Linked DNA regions of Homo sapiens: region 2 is linked to region 1. The links are contacts of gene promoters, found by promoter capture Hi-C in human tissues and cell types (Jung and others, 2019). All regions are on one chromosome and are shown on one strand. Each heading gives the region's core, a stretch centred on a gene start or on the middle of the fragment in contact. The rest is flanking DNA. Distances are from core to core; before and after follow the strand shown. Region 1 holds the start of GNAI1 (G protein subunit alpha i1). Region 2 overlaps GNAI1 (G protein subunit alpha i1).

Region 1 (3,613 bases), core at 809-3,308:
TTATTCTAGTCCATCCCTAACAGTCACCTAATTAAAGGACAAAACACCACCACCAGATGATTCATTTTTCAATTGCTTTAAACATGGTGGATGGCTGGCTCAAACTAAGAGTCACACAGAAATACACTGAAACAACGTATCACACCAGGAGAGCAAAAACTGCAAGAAAAAAACTTCTTAATCCTCTTATTTCATATCTATCTCACATTCAATTCACAAGAGAAGTACATACACTAACCTCATCAAAACACAGTATTTCTTATTAATGTAAAAACTTAGGCAAACAACATTAACTGAGAAAGATTTATGTTGGGGGCGACAGGGTGAAAAAAGCCACCCAGGTCTTTAAAATGCAAAGTTATTTCACAGTTTACTTGCAAAATGACTCAGATCATTATTACTTTTAGTCATGCCAACTTTGCTGCTCCCAAGCCTACTAGTAATGGAGAAAAAAAACCCACCATTTTTTCTGCAGTCATTAAACCAATGAAACAGAAGCTTACTGAAAACAGGTTTGTGCAACATTTCTTTTTTATTATAACTGGTATAAAAATACAAGCAGTCCTTGGAAATGCAAATGAAGATTCTGAGAAATTTTTCATCTATCTAAATACCTAGAGTGTGAGAAGAAAACATGCAAACAAAAGAAAACCCTAACTCACGAATCTTAACCTGTAAAGATTTTCCTAATGCTTCCCTCAGTGAAAACCCTGGTTTACTCTTTATTTTCTTCCCCGTCAAACATTTGGAAAAGACCTCCACGTAGCGTTTCACGAACAGAACAGTGCTAAGAACAAATAAAAGCCTTGCGTGTACCTGGCAAATCTCATTCATCAGAAACGGTGGCAGCGGAGACAGAACCCTGTTGTCTGGCGTGACCCTCTCGCTCTTTCACAGCAGTTTTCACCACTCGAGTATCTGCCTTGCCTACTACTAAAGCAAAGCTTCCCAACCCCACTTGGGTGGCTTCCATGCCCCCACAGCAAGAAAAATCAAGCATCCAGCGCAGCCTTTTCTCAGCGCAGGGGGAATGTAATCAGCGCTCCTTGACCACTTAAGGAGTCGCCATAGGAAGTTAACAGGAAAGACGCTTCAGCCCCATCTCAGAGGCCCCACAAAAGGTGCACTGATTTCACCAAACGTGGCACTCTGGGCATGAGAAAACCACAGTCGAAACACAACCTACACCGCACACGAAGAAGGGTTTTCCGGGAGGGGGTTGGTGGCGCGGGGGGGGGGGTGTTTTCATTTTCTAGCCGCGAATGCCCCTTCATCTTTACAAGGCTGAGCTAAACTTCAAAGCAAAGGGTTTCCACGCGACCCGCCGCCTCGGACTCGCGCCTGGGCTCTTTGCTGGGTCGCACGAAAGCATCCGAGTGAAGTGACGCGCCCGCCCCGCCGCGGGGAGTCCTCGCCCGCCGGGGCGGAGAGAGACCAGACACCGGGAGAGGGGGACCCGCCTTGCCTCCGCACCGCCGGACCCAGCTCCCGCTCAGAAGCCTCCTCGGGCGCTTCCTCCCCCTTCCCTCCGGGTTTCCAAACGCCGAGGGCCGCGCAGCGCCGCACCCGGTCCCCCGCCGACCCCCGGGCCCCGACCCGGCCGCCCTTACCGAGCAGCAGCAGCTTGACCTCGCGCGCCGCCTTCTCGCCGTCCTCACGGAGGTTGCGGTCGATCATCTTACTCCGCTCCACCGCCGCCTTGTCCTCGGCGCTCAGCGTGCAGCCCATGGTGCCGAAAGCGAGAGCCTGCCGCCGCTCCCTCCGCGCCCGAGTGCGGGCTCCAAGCACAGGGGAATCCTTTCTCTCTCCTAGCGGGCGTTCGAACGCCTCCCGACGGGGGCCACGCCGCCCCCACCACTTCCTAAGCGGAGTCGAGGGAGACGCTGTCCGCAAAGGGGCAGACAGCAACGGGCGGCTGTTCCTCACGACCAGGCTCTGCTTCCCGGCCCGGCTCAGCGCCCCCAAGTCCCGGGTTTGGGGTTTTGAATCTCTGGGTACAGTGGCCGCTGCACTCCCGCCGGTGGCCGCGCCGCAGCCTCGCCAAGCCCAGCCGAGCTCGGCCTCCGCGCGCCGCCGCGGCCCCGCCCCTGCCCGCCCCTCCCACCACCCCGCGACCACTCCCAGAGCGCGCGCCCGCGCACGTGCCCTCGGACAGCGCCCCCCGGCCCCGGACCCCGGCGCCGCGCCACCACTGAGGGCCTGGCGCCCCCTGGCAGCGTCCCCGGGGCGCGCCACTGCCCCGCGGGGCTGTGGCCTTCTGCCCTGGGCGGGAGTGGGGTAATTTCTTTCCGTTTACTCACACGGAGGGAGCTGTGCGTACCTGCCCCTTCGGGTGGGGGTGGGAGAGCTGCCAAAGTTGCCGAAAAAAGCCAGTTCTGGGCGTTTGAGCATGCCCAGCGCCGGCAGCCACGCAAGGTTTTTCAAAATGCAAATCCCTGTCGGCTGGTTTCAGGGCCGTGAGAAACAGGGAACTGGGGAAGGAATGGAGCCTGGTGAAACCAGAGATGGGCACAGTGGAGAACAGGAAAGTCGGGGGAGGGGACTAGAAAAGGGCACCAAGGTCACTTTCTTCCTACCTTTTGCTTCTCTTTCCTTCTTCCTATCCCTCCCTCTTTCCTTGCACTCTCACGTTTTTCACAAGAACGCATTTTGAAGGATTTCCTCGTAACCTAAAAAAAATGGAAGACAAATAATCAAAAGTATTTTTAAATGACAAGAGCAATAAAACACACCCACACAAGCCAATCTCCACATCGTAGCAGATCTCCTCTAGAGCAGCACATAAGCTTCCATGCCAAATTTGGAGCCAATATTTATGACCGTGTTTGTAACTCCTGTACCATTGGGCATGCCATTTTTACAGGCCTTAGCTTCTTTGCCCATAAAATGAGGAGTGGATCTATGGTGCTATCTCCCCATCCTTCCAGCTGTAACAATCGGCGGAGATAAGTTCCTGTGGCCCGCGGGAGGCATTGCTACTCAGCACCCAATGAATGAGCAGAGGCTTAAGATCTCATCTCTCCCTGTCAGTTGCACTACACCTTTCCCCTACAGATATCACAGGAAGCGTTAACTGATTAGAAAATGGGGCTGGTAGCAAGGAAAAACATGGTCCTTGATGTACTAAAAATTGGAACATGCTCCCTGGTTTTCATCTGGAAATCTTATTCTCTAAAAATCATTTGGGAAAACTGGGCTTGAGTTTTCCAAGGTGAGGCTGAACTGATGATACAAGCAGAATAGCTTTCGAGTAGGTCACTGAGACCACGCTTGTGAGCTAGCAGAGACTGAGTTGCCTCCTTATGGGACATGTCCTTTCCTGTTCTCCTATGGGAGTCACACCACCTGCTGGGCTGATGAGATGCAATTTCAAGATCTGCCTCAACTATAATCTTTTGTAATATAACAACAAAAAGGAACAATCTTTAAATGTACTTAGTCACCTTCTACACTGTAATTCTAGGCACTCTAAATGCTAATGTGTATCAGAACTCTGGAATTAAACTTAAGGAAATCAAATTTCAACACACTGTGTATTAGCCATTCTTAATTATCTTTTATGGTGAGTCTTTCCTATTAAGTTCGGACCAGAGTGTGGAACCAACAGTTTCAG
Region 2 (3,302 bases), core at 257-2,756, 35 kb before region 1:
ATCTGATGAGCTGTAAGAGAAGGAACTATTTGGTCCTAATTTAACAATATACTTTAGTTTCTAGTTGAATCAGTTGCTCTAGGACTAAGAGAACCAGAAGTAATGAACCTCAACTGTAAACTGAATTTTCTTTTCCAAACTGTCTTTACTAAAGCCATAATATATTTACTGTAAAATGCACTGATTTTAGTGATGTCAAATGTGAAAAATGTCTATCTTAGAATTAATGAAATACACTATGTCCCTTTGATCCATCATCACTAATGGAGCAAACTGCCAGGTTAGAGTTTCTAATATGGTTTGGGTCTGTGTCCCCAGCCAAATCTCATGACAAATTGTAATCCCTAATGTTGGAAGTGGAGCTGGTGGAAGGTGACTGCATCATGGGGGTAGATTTCCCCTTTGGTGCTGTTCTGGTGATAGTGAGTGAGTTATCTGAGATCTGGTTTCTTACAAGTATATATCACCTCCCGCCTCTCTCTTCCTCCTACTCCAGTCATGCAAGACATACCTGCTTCCCCTTCGTGTTCTACCATAACTGAAAGTTTCCTGATGCCTCCCAGCCATGCTTCTTGTACTGCCTGCAGAACTGTGAGCCAATTAAAACTCTTTTCTTTATAAACTACCCAGTCTCAGGTATTTCTTGATAGCAGTGCAGGAATGGACTAATAAGGCCTCCATTAGGGATTTTGTACACTTGAGTTTTCAGAGAGGTTAATAAACATGAAAAGATGATCAATAACATTAGTCATCAGGGAAATGGAAATCAAAACCACAATAAAGGTACTACTTCACACCCACTAGGATGGCCATAATAAAAAGGTAGACAATCCAAGTATTGCTGAAATGTAGAAGAATTATGGAATCTTCATACACTGCTTGCTAGGAATGTAAATGGTACAACCACTTTGGAAAACACTCTGGCATTTATTCAAAAGGTTAAACACTCAATCCTACATACATACACAACAAAAATGAAATATACTCACAGGCAAAAAGTTGTACATGAATGTTTATAGCAGCATCATAATAGCAAAATGGTGGAAACAAGACAACTGTCCATCAACGGATAAAGAGGTAAACAATGTAGCCCGTCTGTACAATGGAATTACTCAGCTATGAAAAAGAACAAAGTACTGATACATGTGACAATGTAGAGGAACCTTATGAACATTATTATGCTCAGTGAAAGAATCCAAAGATCGTATTATATGATTCCATTTATACGAAATGTCCAGAAATGTCAAATCTATAGAGACAGAACGTAGACCAGTGGTTGAGTAAGGGTGTGGGTTTTGTGGGAAATGAGAAGTGACTGGTAAAGGTCATGAAATTTTTGGTGGTAATATAAATATTCCAAAATTGATTATGGTAATGGCTGCACGACATTATGCCTAAACTTGAAAATTATGGAAATATACTTTAATGATTTTTGGTGAATTATATCTCAATAAAACTGTCTTTAAAAGTTAATAAAATTTGGTAATCAATAATCAACAAGATAATTTGGGAATGACACTTAAAAACCTGATTATAGACATTTCAATGACTTCCCTTCCATGAAGTCATCCTGAAACACTAACACCTGGTTACTTGCTAAGAGCAAACTGTTCCTAAATGGAACCTTCATTCCACCTCCTCTTCTATTGTGTAGCATTTCTGAATACACAATTTGCTGAAAGACTACTGATTTTATATAAAATAGAAGTCCAAAGATTTTACCTAATAGATAGGGGTGGTGTTTGATATGAGAAAATGATACATGTCTATTACTTTAAAATGATACTAGAAATACAAAAGGATTCCCTCAGGAGGAAATTTTAGCCTATAAGTCTCCAACTTGCAAACGTTAAAAGGTTTTAGGCCTTTTAACAGTCACAACAGAACTTTATTAAAGAGAGCAGAGGCAAGTGGATGGAAAACCACCGCAAAAGCCACGTGTAGACTACGGAATCTAACTACAATTGTCATCTGTCAAGACACAGTTCTTACCCCCTATTTTAAATCTAAGAACATTTTAAAGGGGAAAATCATAGTTTATGACAAAATCAAAAGAATCAGGGACAGAAGTACAGAAAGAAGAGTAATTAGAATATTATTAGTTACATTTAAGGGACAGAACAAGCAACATTAAAGAAACAAAATGAAGCGTAAGTTTCTGGCAACAGAGGCAATATATAGGTCCTGTAACATAAAAAGACAGTCAACCTAACATCATCAAAAAGAAAAACCTGTAATAAAATATTTTTAGTCAAACCAGTAGGGTAAATTTTTAGAAACGTAGGATAGTGGTTGTCAGGAGCTGGGAATGAAGAAGCAATGGGGATTTATTATTTAATTGGTAAAGAGTTTTAATTTGGGATGATGTAGAAGTCCCAGAGATGGACACTGGTGATGGTGAACAACAATGTGACTGTACTTAATGCCACTGAACTGTACACTTAAAAATAATTGGCCAGGCGCGGTGGCTCACGCCTGTAATCCCAGCACTTTGGGAGGCCAAGGCAGGCAGATCACAAGGTCAGATCGAGACCATCCTGGCTAACACGGTGAAACCCTGACTCTACTAAAAATACAAAAATTAGCCGGGCGTGGTGGCGGGCACCTGTAGTCCCAGCTACTCGGGAGGCTGAGGCAGGAGAATGGTGTGAACCCAGGAGGCGGAGCTTGCAGTGAGCCGAGATCGTGCCACTGCACTCCAGCCTAGGTGACAAAGTGAGACTCTGTCTCAAAAATAAATAAATAAATAAATAAAATAATTAAAATGGTGAATATTATGTATATTTTGTCGGAATTTTTAAGTGAATCAGATGTTCTAGTTATGGCCTTTGTATGCATGGGGGGGCTTGTTTCTAATACATTTCACAGTAATCTTTTAAAAACCGAGTAAATGAGTAAAAAGAGGGTTAAGTACATGACTAGAGATTTCTAGAGCACCTGTCAAATGCCATTTCTTGTATATTCTCTAGTCTGAGGCAGCACCTAGGGCTTCAAGTTGCAAGTTGAAGTTCTCATGGAGTCAGCTAAGGGCAATGATTCTCAAAAAGGATAGCGCTAGCCCAGGAACAGTTTAATGGGAATTTGTGGGAACATTTTTGGTCATTGGTGTGGTTGGGTATACTACTGTGATATACAGAAGAATCCCATCAACAGAGTACTTTCCATGTCCTGCACAATTTGCTAATGACCTATATTTTGTTGGTGAAAAATCGTAACTTTATAATATCTGAATCTACTACCTAATTCAATTTTCCACATAAACACAAAGACTTTTTTTGCATGATTTTGATATGTGTTGACTT

What was found. Contacts are between HindIII fragments. The study calls those that stand out against the background at their distance.
Region 2: a fragment that was not itself captured here is called in contact with the fragment with the promoter of GNAI1 in region 1 in 1 of the 25 tissues and cell types used here (liver).

The regions. Positions count from the first base shown.
Region 1 is chr7:80,133,276-80,136,888 of GRCh38, reverse strand. GNAI1 (G protein subunit alpha i1) reads right to left here and starts at 2,058. Exons shown (of 8, transcript NM_002069.6): 1 at 1,611-2,058. The coding sequence starts at 1,728. The HindIII fragment of the contact is 3,503 bases long and covers 1,866-3,613 here.
Region 2 is chr7:80,167,834-80,171,135 of GRCh38, reverse strand. The region is part of intron 1 of GNAI1 (G protein subunit alpha i1); the gene reads right to left. Among named protein-coding and RNA genes, the nearest start is that of GNAI1, 35 kb to the right of the region's middle. The HindIII fragment of the contact is 9,772 bases long and covers 1-3,302 here.